Linked DNA regions of Homo sapiens: all the other regions are linked to region 4. Evidence: promoter capture Hi-C in 16 types of primary human blood cells and fetal thymus (Javierre and others, 2016). All regions are on one chromosome and are shown on one strand. Each heading gives the region's core, a stretch centred on a gene start or on the middle of the fragment in contact. The rest is flanking DNA. Distances are from core to core; before and after follow the strand shown.

Region 1 (2,700 bases), core at 141-2,640, 290 kb before region 4:
TTTTAAAAAATCTTCCCGCAATTTGATTACTGGTTTTATACAGTTAAGGTTATACTTTTTATTGAAATTAAGAACTTAAGCAAAATCAGAATCAGTTATTAAAATAAGCCTTGGAACTCACATCGCTGGTAAGTGGTTGAGTTGGGCCTTTAAGCCACATCTTCTGATTCAAAATACTATTTATACCATTTTATTCTAGGGATACCATGAAGCCTATAGCACCTCCTTCTCAATTTAGTATGTTCCATTTAGCCTAGAGAAAAGACTGAAGGTTGTTGCAACTACATATACTTTATATTTCTTTCTAAGTGTCACAATTGAGTACAATTAGAGTTCAATTTCTCTTTATAATGGATGTTCCCAGAGGGTAAACAGAAAGAATGTATGCATTCTTTAAGCAAAGCTTTATTTTTCTCTATGAATCAGCATGCAAAATCCCCTAGCAACATTTGACTTTAATACTTATGGAAATCAGATTGGTCTCCCTTGTTAGAGTGGGCATCTTGATGGCCCGTGTTATTTCCTCTATGTGGGGTTCCAGCTGTGTTGTCAGCCAGCAGTACCACTTCCTGAGGGCTGAAGAACATCTTTCTGAAAGCATTGCCCTAAAGCTGCTGCTGCCACTCCTACCATGCTCCAAATCATCAGCTTTCTAATGTGCCCTGTGAACCCTAGGCAAAGGGACAAAAAACATTATTTTAGACTTCAGTTCAGTTGGGAATCAGAAGTTGTATGGAGCCATTAAGTGGAGGCATTCAACGTATTCACACAATAACTGTTTGAACACCTATTATGTGCTCACATTGTGCTAGGCACTGGGGATCTGCTAACAAGAGACACAATCCCTATCCTCATTGTAGCTCACAGATTAGGCTGGCAAATTGACATTTAAAAAATACTGTAACTACACAAGTAACTCAGCCTCTCTTTTCATCTCTTGCTAACCTTGATGCAGGACACAGCATCTCTCTCCTTTCCAGTAAATAAATAGACAATCTGTTCTGCACCAAAAGTATTAATGAACTGCATAGATGTTGACCAAGATTTTGTGTAGGAGTTTCCTACACAAAATCTTATAAAATCTCCCATACAAATCCTATGGGAAACTCCCACACAAAATCTTACAAAATCTCCTATACAAATTCTATGGAAAACTCCTACACAAAATCTTACAAAATCTCCCATACAAATCCTATAGGAAGCTCCTACACAAAATCTCCTATACAAATCCTATAGGAAACTCCCATGCAAAATCTCAGCCTGACATCCTCAGTTCTCTTTGGAAGTATCTGGTCTCCAAGCTGGATTCTTCTTTGCCCTGGACCTGTTTCCTGACCTTGTGGTCTTGTGTCTCCCTATTCTGTTTTTACCCCCTGGAAATTTTGTTTTCCTGTAGCGCCACCCTGTTCCGTTCCTGGTGAGCAGTTCATCTCTGCCTGGGAGTTCACCTCCAGCCTTGCACACTTCAGGGGCCCTCCAGCAGCTGGAACCCACCTCCTCATTAGATGGTGTGTGTGTTTTGGGGGTGCGGAGTATAAATAACATGGAAATCAGGTTGTGCTGCACTTAAATAGGGAGTAATTATAATTGTGTTTATTTGATAGAGGGAGGCACAGGTGCCAGGAGACTGAGTAAGAAGTGAGCCTGTGAGACAGCTGCTTGCCAGCCGCATCAGGCCCTGGCCCCTGAGTCAGCCTGTGTCTAATTAGGAGCAGGCTGCAATCGCCATCTGAATAATTCTCTGGGATTGAGTTTCTTCCTGAATGACTCGATTCACACTGGATGAGAAACTGTCTCTCTCCACTAGGAAGTGGAATAAAACAACTGACTCACATTTCACGCTTCCGTTTTTGCCAAGTGGAGATGATAATTTCTCAGTTACTCAGATGTGGGCTAGAGCTGAATCTGCTTTTTATAACTGACTGACTTAGCAAGGAAGTGAAAATCCAGGTACTGAGATGGAGCAGGGACCCCTTTTAGGGGTCTCTGGGTCCCCAAGCATGGAAATAAAGGAAAATCTTGAGCTCCTTCAAGGGAAATTCCAGATGCCTAGCTAGCCCTGAAAGTGAATAAGCAGCTTGATAAACAAGAAGGTAATGGTAGCCTGAAACAATAGCCAAGGAACTGAGAGTCCCGAGATGTTTGGTTCCCTATAGAAACTAAAGATAACATCTTAACATATGTACCCGAGTTATTTTTCAGAAACCTGGACCTCCAACAAATGGATACACTGGCACATAGACCTCAGATAATGTAGAACTGAGGACTGAATTCTGATAACCATTCTTTGTTCTAAATTTCTTCCTGAGTGTCCTGGAGGAAGTCACACCCATGAGCCAGAGCTAACATTCTTTCTGCTGACCTTAAATTTTTAAACAAAGCTTCTCTTCCTTAACCAATTGTAAAAGAGAAAATCTTTGAACCTGCCTATGACCTGTAAGCTCCTGCTTCAAGATCCCCCACCCTTTCAGGCCAAAACCCATGTGTAGCCTCCATGTATTGATTTATGATCTTGCCTGTAACTTCTGCTTTCCTGAAATTTACCCCTGCTTTTAAAAACCCTTACTTGCAAGCCATTGGGAAGTCAGGACATAAGCATTAGCTGCCAATTCTCCTTTCTTGGTGCCCTGCAAATAAATACCTTCCTTTCTTGCCACTTCAAACCTCAGTGTGGATGTCTGGCCTTACTGTGCCAGGCCA
Region 2 (2,922 bases), core at 418-2,917, 330 kb before region 4:
AGTTCTTTCATTTCTCCCGAATGAATCAAGGAGAAATCTCCCAGGAAGGCGAAACCTCTGGACCACCAAGTCCTTGAAGTAGGGCGACCCACTGCCACAGTTTTAATGGGAGTGTCCCGGTTTTAGCACTTAATAATCTCATGACCCGGGAGCTCCACTAGTCTTCTGCAAACTGCGATGGTGGTTTCCTCTACCTGGGAGCCTGGCAGCCCCACCAGGCCCTACAGGATTACATCTGTTGACTGCACTCAGTTTTACTTCATTGCAGGTGGTGTTTCTTTCCCTTGGTAGAGTTCTTTCACTAACACCCCTGTGAGTCTTGTCAGATGTGATTAAACTCTGGGCAACACAAATGGAATGAAAAGAGGGAGGTGGAATTGTTTTTTTTTTTTTTTTTTAACGTGAGATAACTGACAGGTAAGACTTGAGATGAACCGGGGGGTTAAAGAAGGGTATGCGTGCCTCTGGGTGCTTTGCTATCTATGTGCTCACACATAAGAAGGAGTATGTGTAATGTACTGAGGAAGAGACCTTGGGAAGCCCGACCTGGGCAGGAGCCCCTGGAAAGTGGGGGAGGGGAAGGCAGCCGTGGCTGCAAAATTGAGGCACACAGTTTCCCATCACGGCCTCCAGAGGGCGCCATCAGCCCGCAGTGGTTCTTTGCCTTTTGAGGGCGGGCAGAAGGAAGAGGATCCACCTGGAGGATGGGTAACGAGAGCTGCAACCCACTTCCTTCAGGGCTGGGGCATGCAAGAACGAGGAGTGGACCGCTCGCAGTGCTTGAATGTCCTCCTTGTTAACCCCAGCTGGGATAAGCACCTCCGCCTCATAAGATCAAAGCTCTTTCATTCCTGCTTTAACTTTGCCAGTTCCCTTTACTTCGGAAAGAATGAGAAACCTCATCCTAGCAATCCCAGGGATCTGTGCCCTCCAGAGGAAGATCTCTGCAAAGCTGTTTACAGCGGGTTGTTTGGAGGCCAGCTTCTCTGGCACGGCGCGGTGTCCCCGTGGAGCGTTTCCAGGGCGCGGAGGCCCTGGGTCACCAACTCGAATGAATAGTGAGTGAGCTGATTGCCGCTCCACGCTGATGGATGTATATTTGTTACATTTGAAGTGTTCTGAGAAAAGAACTGCTTCTGAAAAGAAGAGCTTTGTGTGAGCACAGTGAACATGAAGGGCGAGATTCCAAAACCTTTAGGAGGGTTTTCTTTCTATGCAAGAATGAGCCACAGAAAGCTGTTCCCAGCATCCTCTGCTAATCTAGGAACACCTATGGAAAAGCGTTGTCCCGGTCTCAATCCCAGGGATGGGAATCAGGAAGCACAGAAGCTGCCATCAGAGCCCAGGGCTGGCTCTGTCATTGCCCCTTGGGTGACCTGCCGGCAAACCGCTAGAGAGCCGAGCCTCAGTTTTCTCATCTGTAAAATGAGAGCCCGGTTGTAGGGTACCCAAGTTCCCTCCCAGGTCTGGCACTTCCTGAGGGTCCTATTGTTCACCATAGAGCTAATAATGCTAGTTCTCAATTGTTTTGTTCTTGGGACCCCTTCACAAATCTTAAAAGTACTGAGCCTCCCCCCACCCCATGGATCTGTGGGGGCTTCTTTTGCTATTTGGCAGTCAGTACTAATCAAACTAACTGACATAGAAGAATTTTAGCTTATACTTCATGTGTCTAAGGCTCTCTCCAAGGGCCTTCTCTCTGCCCTATCATGTTTACATTTGTCTTGGTTGATGTAAGGCACTGATTATGGCCTCTGGATGCACATTGGAATCACCTGTAGAGCTGAGACATAACCTCAGACCAATTCCCAGAGATTCTCATCTAGTTGGTCTCTGCTAGGGTAGTGGGGAGGGGGCTACCAGGTGATTTTTAATGTGTAGCCAGGCTTGAGAAGGGCCACTCTGATAGCTCTGTGGTTCTCAAAGTCAGCCGGCAGCATCAGTATTACCTGGGAACTTGTTAGAAATGCAAATTCTCAGGCCTGCCAAGGACCTACTAGGGCAGAGCCCAGGAATCTGTTTTAACAAGCCTTCCAGGTGATTTGAATACATGCTACAGTTTGAGACCCAGTGTTCTCAATTGCCACACCTCCACAGCTTCCACTCCCACCTTCACCATCACCTCCATCAACTAAGTAAGCCCATGAAAATGTTTCAGGTTCCCATCTTCCAAGGTGCAGCTGTCTGTGTTTGCAGTGGTGACAGGGGCTTGGGTGACTGTGGCATCATTTGCATGTGAGAAGCTGCTGGGCTCTTCAGCAAGAATGAACCAAAGGTCACTAAATGCCACACACATATTCCATTCAGCAAATATTTATTGCATAAATATTTATTGAGGTACCAGCCTACTGCTGAGGGCATCACCTTACAGAATGCTTGCTGCATAGGAGATGCTTCAGAAATGCTGGCTGATGAAACCTCAAGGCCTTTTTGCAGCCATTCATGCTGCCTAAGAATTATGCATCCTGTTTACTCTGTCCTTACCTTCGACACATGGAAGCTCTAATCCTTGGGAATCCTGAAAAGCAAGGGTCCCTCTGGCACAGCAACCAAAAAGAAAATCACAACCACACCTAGCCTGTGCTAGCCTTGCCAATGATATTGCTTTTGCAAAGAATGGAAAATATTTGCAAATGGTTGAATGTTGAATCATGGGTTCTATGACATTAATGTTTATAAAATTCCATTTTACTATGGAAACAATAGGCTAATTGTTAGAGTGGATGGAGATCTATAGGATTGTCTCCTCCACACTCACATACTTGTTTTTCTAGAAACTGCCACCTTTCCCATCCGTATTTCTCACAGGAGCTCTCTCTCTCTTTCTCTCTCTCTCTCTGTATATAGTACATGACCCATCAACCTAACTGGCACTCAATCCAAAGTGGGCTACTGACTCTTGACTCCTTTGGTTAGAATTTT
Region 3 (2,784 bases), core at 247-2,746, 280 kb after region 4:
GGGATTTTTGTAGGGATTGTGTTGAATCTGCATACTGCTTTGGGTAGTATGGATATTTTAACAATATTAATGTTTCTAATACATGAGCATGGGGTAGCTTTCCATTTATTTGTGTCTTCTTCAATTTCTTTCATGAATGTTTTACAGTTTTCAGTGTAATTTTTACACCTCAGTCAGTTAAATTTATTCATAAGTATTTGATTTTATTTTACTTTTTCATCCTATCATAAATGGGATTGTTTTCTTGCATTCTTTTTCTGTTAGGTCATTATGTGTATAAAAATGCTACTGATTTTGGTATGTTCATTTTGTATCCTGAAACTCAATTCATTTAGTGGTTCTAATAGGTTTTTGTGAAATCTTTAAAGTTTTTAAAAATAAGATAATGTCATCTGTAATAGAGATAATTTTACTTCTTTTATAATTTGGACGCTTCTTATTTTTCTTGTCTGATTGCTCTTGGTAGTACTTCTAGTACCGTGTTACATAGAAGTGGTGAGACTGGGCATCCTTGCCTTTGTCTTTTACTACATCTTAGGGGAAAAGCTTTCAGTATTTCCCCATTGATTATATGAGGAACTAATATTATATGTTAGCTGTGGGTTTTTCATAAATGGCTTTTAATATGTTGAGGACCTTTCCTTCTATACCTAAATTATTGTGAGTTTTTATCAAGAAAAAATGTTGGACTTTATTGAATGCTTTTCCCAAATCAATTGAGATGATCATGTGGTTTTTAATCTTTCATTCTGTTAAATCTATCACATCGATTGATATGCATATGTTACACTTATCCTAGCCAGACTTGCATGGCTAGGATAATTCTCATTTGGTCATGATGTATGATCTTTTTTATGTATTGTTAAATTCAGCTTGCTAATATCATATTGAGAATTTTTGCATTAATATTCATCAGAGAGATTGTCCTATAGTTTTCTTTTCTTGTGATATCTTTCACTTAGGTATCAAAGTGAAGATGGCCTCATAAAGTTTATTTGGAAATACTCCCTCTAGCTTTATTTTTTGGAAGAGTTGTATTAAGAAGCATTGGTATTAATTCTTCTTTGAAAGTTTGGTAGAATTCAGTGTGAAGCCATCTGGTCCTGGGCTTGGCTTTTCTTTGTTGGGCAGTTTTTTGTTTTTTTGTTGGTTTTTTGTTTTTTTGTTTTTTTTTTTTTGAGACAGAGTTTCGCTGTTGTTGCTCAGGCTGGAGTGCAATGGCGCAATCTCGGCTCACTGCAACCTCCGCCTCCCAGGTTCAAGCGATTCTCCTGCCTCAGCCTCCCGAGTAGCTGGGATTACAGGCATGCGCCACCACCCCGGCTAATTTTGTATTTTTAGTAGAGATGGGGTTTCTCCATGTTGATCAGACTGGTCTTGAAGTCCCGACCTCAGGTAATCCACCCGCCTTGGCTTCCCAAAGTGCTGGAATTACAGGCATGAGCAACCGTGCCCGGCGTTTCTTGGTTTTTTTCAGATGGAGTCTTGCTCTGTCGTCCAGGCCGTAGTGCACTGGCTCACTGCATTGGCTCATTTGGCTCACTGCAAACTCCGCTTCCCAGGTTCAAGCAATTCTTGTGCCTCAGCCTCCTAAGTAGCTGGAATTACAGGCACCCACCACCAGGCCCAGCTAATTTTTGTATTTTTAGTAGAGATGGGGTTTCATCATGTTGGCCAGGCTGGTCTCAAATTCCTCACCTCAGGTGATCTGCCCGCCTTGGCCTCCCAGAGTGTTGGGATTACAGGCATGAGCCACTGCTCCCAGTTTTTTATTACTACTTCAATCTCTTTATTTGTTATTAGTCGGCTCATGCCTTCTATTTCTTCCTGACTCAATCTTGGTAGGTTGTATTTTTCTAGGAATTTATCCATTTTTTCTAGGTTATCCAATTTATTGGCATATACTTGTTCATAATAGTCCCTTATAATCTTGTTTTTTATTTCTAAGACATCTGTTTTAATTTCTTCACTTTGATTTTTTGAGTCTTCTCTTTATCTCTTACATGATTTATCAATTTTATTTATTTGTTCAAAAAACCAACTCTTAGTTCTATTCTTTCTACGGTTTTTCTGTTCTCTATTTGTTTTATTTCGGTTCTGATTTTCATTGTTTCCTCCCTTCTGTTAATTTTGGGTTTAGTTTATGCTTCTTTTTCTAGTTCCTTGAGGCATAATGTTAAACTATATGGGATTTTCTTTTTTAATGCAGGCATTTGTTGTTATAAACTTCTCTCAGAACTGCTTTTGCTGCAGATGTGTTATGTTTCCATTGTTATTTGCCTCAAGATTTTTGTGAATTTACCTTTTGATTTCTTCTTTGATCCATCGATTGTTCAAGAGCATGTTGCTTAATTTCTACATACTTGTGAATTTTTAAAGATTCCTTCTGTTATTGATTTCTAGTTTAATACCTCTATGGTCTGAAAAAATACTAGATATGACCTTATAAGCTTGTTAAGACTAGTTTTGTGGCTTAACATATGCTCTATCCTGGAGAATGTTCCATGTACACTAGAGAAAAAATGTGTATTCTGCTGCTGTTGGGTGGAAAGTTCTCTGTATATCTGTTAGGTTCATTTGGCCAAAAGTGCAATTCAAGTCCAGTATTTCCTTATTAATTTTCTGTTCAGTTGCTCTATCAGTTGTTGAAAGTGGGATATCGAAGTCTCCTACTATTATTGTATTGCTGTCTGTTTCACCCTTTATGTTCATTAATATTTGTTTTATGTATTTAAGTATTCCAATGTTAGGTTCATATATATTTACGCTCATTGTGTCCTCTTG
Region 4 (2,700 bases), core at 145-2,644:
ATATAATTGATAATTCACCTAAAGAGATGCCCATGACAAGTCCACATTTAAGTGGAAAAACTGATTACCTGAAAGTTGGAGTGTTTTAAAATATACATTTTATATATACAAACTTATAAATATTGAAAAACTCTATAGGAAATACACCTTTCCTAATAATTTAATAATTATTATTTCTGGGTGATAGGATTATAGATTATCTATTTTCGTTTTTGTTCTTTTTTGGCATTTTCTAATAGACATTTATAAGTAGAAAGACAATAAAACCATTTAAAGTTTTAAACATGACTATGCTCAGCAATATTAAACCAAGAAGCATCTATAAAGAAGACTTTTCTCTGACCTTTAGCCCTCATCATATATTTCCAAGCTTATGGTATTAAGATTTTTTTCCCTATCTTAGCCTTACAAGTAAGAGGTGTGTGTATACTGTACACGACATTTCTCAGTCTGGCTTTAGTAACTCTCCTCACAGCAGCTCTAAACATGTATGCAAGTGGTCATTATCACAAAAGTGTGTAATAACACTCGCAGAATTTACTGTGTTAGCTCTGGGGTTTTTCTGGGAGATCTGCAAACTTAGAACAAACAAATGAAAGCTAAAGCTATATTTGTGGGTCTAATAATAGTTAATAGGCAGGATTTTTAGAGAAGTCTTCTGCTAAGCTATGTCTGGAGAAGCTATTTAAAGTAGTTTTATGGGAGGTTTTTTTTGGTTTTTTTGTTTTTTTTTTTTTACTTTTTGCATTTATAGAAAGACAGTTTTAGTTTGGGTGATTTCCTTGGAACTTTAAGTCCTGGACAAGAGTTAAAAGTAATCGTTTGCTCAAACTCTTGAGATTTTGCTATGGCAAACTGTGATAAGAAGGACGAATGAATGCAAACGTCGTCCTGTAATTTTTTTCCTCCAAGCTAAACCACCTAACCAGCAATGTCAGAGTGCTGTTCTCACCACTTCAGCTGCCCGAGTCTTTGGGACATTTGTGCAGGACCAAAAGAACAGCCGCATCCATGAGAAAATCCTAACTCAAGCTGATTCACGTTAAGATAATTTCTGCTTTAAGATGCTGATTACTAAAATAGGCTCTGCTTAAGAAATAGAGCCAAATTTCTACACCTCCAAGGCCTCTCGGTTGCCAGATTCAACTACGCAGTCAGTCCACTTGTCCTCCCCCTGGGGTGTCCATTTCCAGAGATGATAGAACTGAAACGCCCCCCAACTTCCCCACAGCTGCGCGTTCCCCTGTGTTCCTAGCGCGCAGAGTTGCAGCGAACCTACCTGGTGCAGCTCATTAGGCAGAGAGGCGGCGGACCCTAAAAGCCAGCACCCGCTGCCTGCACAAATTCGAACCACAGCTCCAGGCCTTGCCCCCGCGGCGGTCGCTGGGAGAGACTGAGGGCCCGGCGCCTAGAGGCCGCTTATCTGCTCCCAAGCACGTGACCCGATCCCTGGGACCAATCGCCGGGCCTCGAGCCCCAGGGCGCGACCAACCAGCGCCCAGCTGGGGCGCCAGCCCTCGCCCCGGCAACGTGATCGCCCCGGGGCGAGACGTGCAGAGAGCTATCTGGGCATCGCGGGGAGGTTCTGGGACTCCGCGGCCAGCTGGAACCAGCCGCGTAACGGGAACCCTGGGCTAGGGGCCGGGCAGGCACGTACCGCATGCAGCGGGCGCCGGCCAAGAGAGAGCGCAGCCAGCCTCGCCCAGGCGGGGCGCCAGTGCCTCAGGCTTGGGGCGGCTGTTACTTGGGAATAGCTTTGTGGGTCACTGCGGGTGAATCTGCACACAGAAGATGTGGCTCAAACCGAATGTGTATCGCATTTGAAATGTTTATATCGTTCATTACCCGGTGTATCCGCATTTCTCCCTCACCTTAGCCTGCGCGATCCCAAACTGGCTGCATGCTTTTCGATTAGTATGAGTTCACAGATGCACCACACAGTAGACAGCTGCCGGGAATTACCAACTTATCTAACAAATGTTGTTAGGAAAGCATACGAGCCCCATAAAACACCAAGGTGGCATTTAATTAAAAGACACTTCGTATTTCTGTCTATTCTTCAATTTTCTCCCCTGCGGGGAACACTAAAGCCGGAAGTGAAATGACCCTTTTCACACATACAGCCGGTCAAGAGGCAGCAGTCAACCCAAACCCCTTACTCAATTCTGACGTCCTTTGGCAGTGGTGTGGAAATCAAAATGTTAAAATAAAATTTAAAAAATCACGCCGTATGTTTCATGGGCCTTCTGAGCCACTCACTTTCGCTGAAGTTTCATTATTTTGATTAGTTTGAAGAATTTTTAGACCATCATTTACAACTGTAAAATTAAATGTCTAAGTCAAGTCTAAATTATTTTTATAAAACCCACATCCTAGTTTTGCTCCCCTAATTGAGCTATCCATTAGTCAATTAAAATATACAAAAATTCCTATGTCTTTTAAACAACTGTCAAACAGTGGAATTGTTAAAATTATTAGAGTGAAGAAAAAAATCACACTGAATATCACTGGGAAAGGGACTTCATGCCTGGGTTTTATTTTTGAAATGAAATATCTAACTAATGGCAGGTCTTCTAGCCCCTTTAGCTCAACCAAAACTAGCTGGAAGGTCTTTGGATTGACACTTACTAGCTACACGAATCTAGGCAAGTTCTAACCTCAGTTTCCTCATGTGTAAAACAGAGATAGTAACGTTCTGAA
Region 5 (2,745 bases), core at 47-2,546, 350 kb before region 4:
ACTGTCTTGAGACTTTTACTCCAGCCCTTAGACAGCTGTAGTAGCATCTGCTGTACTTCACCTGGGAGAGCAAGACCTAGGGCATTTGTATTCCTGCCCTCTAGTTCCATCCTGAGCTGAATGGTTACAGATTCCAACATTGAGTCTTCCCAGTGTGTAGCATAGCTATAGTAAGCACTGAAATGGTCATTTTCAGGATTGTTAAATCTCAGTCTAGCCCTTTTATCTATATGAAAGAATACAAAGTTCTCTATACCGTATTTTTATATTCATGTATACCAAGATGGAGAAACATTAGTCAGTGACCATCTCAGCCCCTTCTTGATTCCATAAAAGTAGCTCCTCAAATTTCATTTTAAGAGAGAGTATCTACAGCTTTAAGAAAAGGAAAACCACTGATGTTTTGGTTCTATAAGATATGGTACAGGGTAAAAACAAACACAGAGGTAGCGTGGCATATGCCATATGCCTTTATCCCAAAGAAGCTGTTTCCTCTCTAGTTCTGTATGATAGCCAGATATATGATACCTTTTCTACATAGTGACATGAAAAACAATATGAACCATTCAGTTATTTTATGTAATAGTCAAATCCAAATGTTTATTAGTATCAACTGTTGAAAGGAGGTAGTGACCTAAATGTTTCATGTAACAATCAGCTACTTTTTCAATATTTTTAAAGGATCATTAAAATAAATTTTAAATTTAAAAAATGTTTCAAACTTGTAAGAAATATGATTTGTGAACACTACTCCAGTTTTACAGGTTCCTAGCAGAGGGGGTCTCTTTGTTGATTTGTGATCTAGTGGGCTCTCACCAGCCTAAGCTTTAGTGGAATCCAGGCTGCTGATCTGTCTTGTTCGCCTCCTAGGGTTACTAACTGAATGCCTATAAGCAGGGTGTGTGACTTTCAGTCCTTCCCAGTTCTTGCCTCTCCTAAGTGTTGTGCTAGCACTAGTCATATATACAACCTGTATGATGTCTGTAGGCCTTTGAACTTGACCTCTGCTGCATATTACTGAAAACTTGACTGATTCTAGAAAAATAATGGCAATCAAAAGAAATAGAGTTTTAATGGTAACTCAAATTTTAACTGTTGTAATCACTAGTACCAGGAAATACTGTAAATTATAACTCCGAATTCTTAAAATCTTTCATATATAAACTGTATTGTTTTTATCCAAATACAGTCTTATTTATTATCTGTCTTTATTTTGTAGTCATACCCTATGGTACTGCAGTATCGACCAAGAATTGATTTCGGTTAGACCAAGGGGCCCAGACCTCACTGAGATGAATCCTGCACTATTTGTTTACTCGTCAACAGATTGCACAGTTAACGGTGTGTGGACTAGAGGAACACAACCAGATTTTCAGCATGCAAATAAGGCCATTGTCTATCTCTAAATTGTCAGTTGCATTCATGTTGTTTCTATTAGGAGCAAACCAAGTGCCATTCTGCTACTGAACCATCTGCATAAGGTATTTGTGTTGTCTCAAAGTGTGCAAGTCATGGTAAAAATCAGTTAGCTGTGCCGCCATGATTCACCCTTCTGAATATTTTGCTTGCCTGTTCCAAGATTGTTCTAATGTTTAATTACACTAGTAAAATGGCTCAATTTTTGTGGTGTTGCAGTTTTCACATACTTACTCTTTTATTCTTGTTTAAATAGCGTACTCTACAAGAAACTAATAATTATATCTTGAAATTATTTTGTATGGAAGTATATTTAGAAAAGTGGTTTTTGAGCCACTGTCTTGTTCTTGATAAGCTTTTTGTGTGAAAAAAAGTTCATTCTTGAGTGTGCAAGTCCTTTTGCCAAGAATTCCAATTATTCTGTAACATTAGAGCACAATATAATTGTAGACATTCTAAGCATCTGTCCGTGTAGTCTACCAATTGCACAAGGAAGGCATGTTAGCCCTCCAGATTGAAAATGTATGTGACCTCTTGAACTGAAGTTAGATTCCCAACCATTCAAAATGTTGGCAGCTGATCACATTTACTTCTGATAAAAGTAATGTGTAAGTAAGGTTAATCTTCTTTCATAATGCCTTATGACAAGCAGGTGCTGCTTCATGAAACGTCATTGTATAGCCCATTTCATGTATCATTACATTGTTGCTGTTATTTAATGAGTGCATTATTTCTCTTTTTAAGTTGGCCTTAGGTATATGTCATTGTGGCATGCAGAGGGTTATGACGATTTTAAATATTAGGATTTTTAGAGCACATAACATTAGCTATTTTATGGATTTCAAAAGTCTCAAAACAGTTGTAGATTAAAACTGTTAGTTACCTTTCACATTTCCAAACTATGTGCATAAAATAGAATAAATGCAGTATAGAACTATGCTAACCAAAATTAATAGGTTAAGGGTATTTTATTTTAAATCCTGTAGTAATTGGGGAAATGAGAAGATTATTATTTTATACATGAGTTCATTAAGATCAGAAATACAAAATGTCCTGTATTTTGCAGTTTTGTTAAGTCTTCCATTCGTTTTAGGATTAGTCTGCAAGTCAAAGAAAGTCTTGTTACCTTAAATTATATGAAAACTGTCATTTTAAATCTTTTAATATTTACAGTTTTCAAAAACCTTACTTGGAAATTGCTTTGAAACAAACAAGCTAACCTTTGAAACTTAGGAAAAAATCTTGAAAGTTAGGAAAAATATTTGAGAAATATGACGAGCACAATCTGTGTGTTACACACATTTAGTTTTTATACTGCATATGTGGTAA
Region 6 (2,900 bases), core at 103-2,602, 270 kb before region 4:
GACTCTGTTTTGAATTGAAATGCAAATCTAGTCCTGTCATTGACAAGTTTGGGTGAATGAAATTATCCAATTATTTCCACTGGAAAGGTATATATGGTAGAGGTAGGGGGAGGTGAGAAGAAGTGCACCGGGCAAGGAAGGGAGGAGCAGGAAAAGGAAAAACTATTGCAAAGGGAGAAAGGAGTCTGGGAAGGGAAGCCAGGACCACTGATGGCAGATCTGTCAGCTCCTTGATTTCCCCAAGGGCTGGTCTTGTACTTGGCAACTAAACCATTGTCTTTCACTAAACAGAGCCTTAGTAGTAGCCTCTTGCTGCTCAGCCATGTAAATCAGAAATGGGAACTGGAGGTCAAGAGGGAGGCCAGTATGGGGGACAGTGGGATATGCTGCCAAGGTCTGTCTTGGAGAACGAAGGGCCAATTACCCCCCAGATATTGGGACTGCTACTGGCACTCCACCTTTAGCCCTTTGTGGGGATTGCCTCTGCTGAAGGAAATTACCTTACCAAGATCACATCTCCTTCACAAGGGGCCTCACATCTAATGACTGATTAACATGGTGAATAAAGTTTCTCCTGAGACACCTCTGTACTTTTACTCTGTCTCCATAACTCCCTGTATAGTTGGCTAAGTCATCTGTTGAGACTGCAATACAGATCACCTTCTCCCTTGGCCCAATCCTGCTTACTTTCCCTTCCTTCCATAGGCATTGACATCAAAAGGTCCTACAAAATCTCCTGAATGTCAATCTCAATCACAGGATCTGCTTCCTGGGAACCCTGAATTGCAATAACCAAACTGTGAATCTCCCATTTCCCAAAGGAACAAACTCCATCCTACACCATTAAATACACGAGAGGACTGGGATGTCTTGGGCTGCAGTACATGGCTGCCTACTGCACTGGGAGACTTGATTCGATGACAAAGTGAGTCTAAACAGGTCCAGAAAAGTCTTCCTTTTTCCCTGAGGGAGGTCCTGGAAGCTTAGCTTCTGAGATATTAGGAAATATGAAAAAAAATGACCCATGTCATTCAACAGGCATTCACTAAGTATGAATTCTTTATCAAGCACAAAATTATGTGCTGTCATCATTGTTGTCATTGTCATCATCATCGTCATCATTGTCATTGTTGTTACTAGTAGCATTTCAAGTGGTATCTGGTATTCCAGGAATTTGGAAACAAATCATTATCCGTATTTAATGTTTATCTAACAGATTCATAGACAAAAATAATATCTTTTTAGTGTTGAGATATCCAAATCAGAGTACAATTTTCAAACTGTCCAGATATTTCCCCATCTGCTGGATTTTTCCAATTGCCTTTCTTTGGACCTGCTCTAGTTCTATTGATTTTTCTTGTCATAATGATCATTTATGTTTCCTTTTTTCTAGATACAGATGAATCGGGGTTTTGAAACCAGGCAAGATCATATTCTTTTCAGTTTGCTTCCAGAGATCTTCCCAAAGATGACCAGCCAGCCTTCATTAGTAAATAGTAAAGCTATTTACTAGGTCAGGGTGACTTTAGGACTTCTGTGAGCATATCTGATAGTTTAACGTTCATGCTCATAATCAAAATTTGAATCATTATATTTCTTCACACTCCACTTCACATTCACCCTTGCTGACACTCTGCTGCTAATTTTCTTGTGAGGCTTGTGATTATCTTCACTGGTTGACATTTCATTCCCTCAAACAAGTTAATATCTCCTACAAACTTAGAAGCTTGACTACAGATATCCTTTCTCAGTGTGTTCCTGATCATAAGGAATAACTAGTCGTGCTCTAATCCCTCGAGATTCCATTATTTAGGACTCTATTAACTGCTCATATTCCTACCTTTTGTTTTTTGTCTTTAATTTATTTGATTTTTTTCCTTTGCAAAGTAATCCCACAATTTCCATGATGATGCATATTTGTAACTGATATAATGTGGTGGTAACATTTTGAATGTGTTTGCTCTTGCTTCTCTGGTTCTTTTAATTGTGACGTTAGGGTGTCAATTTTAGATCTTTCCTGCTTTCTCTTGTGGGCATTTAGTGCTATAAATTTCCCTCTACACACTGCTTTAAATGTGTTGCAGAGATTCTGGTATGTTGTGTCTTTGTTCTCATCGGTTTCAAAGAACATCTTTATTTCTGCCTTCATTTTGTTATTTACCCAGTAGTCATTCAGGAGCAGCTTGTTCAGTTTCTATGTAATTGAGCTGTTTTGAATGAGTTTCTTACTCCTGAGTTCTAGTTTGATTGTGCTGTGGTCTGAGAGACAGTTTGTTATAATTTCTGTTCTTTTACATTTGCTGAGGAGTGCTTTACTTCCAACTATGTGGTCAATTTTGGAATAAGTGTGATGTGGTGCTGAGAAGAATGTATATTCTGTTGATTTGGGGTGGAGAGTTCTGTAGATGTCTATTAGGTCTGCTTGGTGCAGAGCTGAGTTCAAGTCCTGGGTATCCTTGTTAACTTTCTGTCTCACTGATCTGTCTAATGTTGACAGTGGAGTGTTAAAGTCTCCCATTAATATTGTGTGGGAGTCTAAGTCTCTTCGTAGGTCTCTAAGGACTTGCTTTATGAATCTGGGTGCTCCTATATTGGGTGCATATATATTTAGGATAGTTAGCTCTTCTTGTTGAATTGATCCCTTTACCATTGTGTAATGGCCGCCTTTGTCTCTTTTGATCTTTGTTGGTTTAAAGTCTGTTTTATCAGAGACTAGGATTGTAACTCCTACCTTTTTTTCTTTTCCATTTGCTTGGTAGATCTTCCTCCATCCCTTTATTTTGAGCCTATGTGTGTCTCTGCACATGAGATGGGTCTCCTGAATACAGCACACCAATGGGTCTTGACTCTTTATCCAATTTGCCAGTCTGTGTCTTTTAATTGGGGCATTTAACCCATTT

The links. The method cuts DNA at HindIII sites, captures the fragments that hold promoters and counts their contacts. A CHiCAGO score of 5 or more calls a contact.
Region 1: a fragment that was not itself captured here is called in contact with the fragment with the promoter of PPP1R3C in region 4 in 2 of 17 cell types (endothelial precursors and naive CD8 T cells); the score reaches 6.5 in endothelial precursors.
Region 2: a contact is called between a fragment that was not itself captured here and the fragment with the promoter of PPP1R3C in region 4, in 15 of 17 cell types (total CD8 T cells, naive CD8 T cells, megakaryocytes and 12 more). The highest score is 29.9, in total CD8 T cells.
Region 3: a contact is called between a fragment that was not itself captured here and the fragment with the promoter of PPP1R3C in region 4, in 1 of 17 cell types (endothelial precursors). The highest score is 6.3, in endothelial precursors.
Region 5: a fragment that was not itself captured here is called in contact with the fragment with the promoter of PPP1R3C in region 4 in 2 of 17 cell types (non-activated CD4 T cells and naive CD4 T cells); the score reaches 5.4 in non-activated CD4 T cells.
Region 6: a fragment that was not itself captured here is called in contact with the fragment with the promoter of PPP1R3C in region 4 in 2 of 17 cell types (endothelial precursors and megakaryocytes); the score reaches 6.3 in endothelial precursors.

The regions. Positions count from the first base shown.
Region 1 is chr10:91,339,393-91,342,092 of GRCh38, forward strand. All of the region lies in intron 4 of HECTD2-AS1 (HECTD2 antisense RNA 1), which reads right to left. Among named protein-coding and RNA genes, the nearest start is that of HECTD2, 70 kb to the right of the region's middle. The HindIII fragment of the contact is 1,978 bases long and covers 402-2,379 here.
Region 2 is chr10:91,297,797-91,300,718 of GRCh38, forward strand. No RefSeq gene overlaps it. Among named protein-coding and RNA genes, the nearest start is that of PCGF5, 79 kb to the left of the region's middle. The HindIII fragment of the contact is 3,876 bases long and covers 1-2,922 here.
Region 3 is chr10:91,914,977-91,917,760 of GRCh38, forward strand. No RefSeq gene overlaps it. Among named protein-coding and RNA genes, the nearest start is that of FGFBP3, 6.9 kb to the left of the region's middle. The HindIII fragment of the contact is 1,904 bases long and covers 545-2,448 here.
Region 4 is chr10:91,631,677-91,634,376 of GRCh38, forward strand. It overlaps PPP1R3C (protein phosphatase 1 regulatory subunit 3C), which reads right to left and starts at 1,395. Exons shown (of 2, transcript NM_005398.7): 1 at 1,280-1,395. The coding sequence starts at 1,293. RefSeq lists enhancers at 1,026-1,527, 1,528-2,027 and a silencer at 1,362-1,501. The HindIII fragment of the contact is 3,050 bases long and covers 369-2,700 here.
Region 5 is chr10:91,277,050-91,279,794 of GRCh38, forward strand. It overlaps PCGF5 (polycomb group ring finger 5), which reads left to right. Exons shown (of 10, transcript NM_032373.5): 10 at 1,220-2,745. The coding sequence ends at 1,267. Among named protein-coding and RNA genes, the nearest start is that of PCGF5, 58 kb to the left of the region's middle. The HindIII fragment of the contact is 946 bases long and covers 824-1,769 here.
Region 6 is chr10:91,359,582-91,362,481 of GRCh38, forward strand. All of the region lies in intron 3 of HECTD2-AS1 (HECTD2 antisense RNA 1), which reads right to left. Among named protein-coding and RNA genes, the nearest start is that of HECTD2, 49 kb to the right of the region's middle. The HindIII fragment of the contact is 744 bases long and covers 981-1,724 here.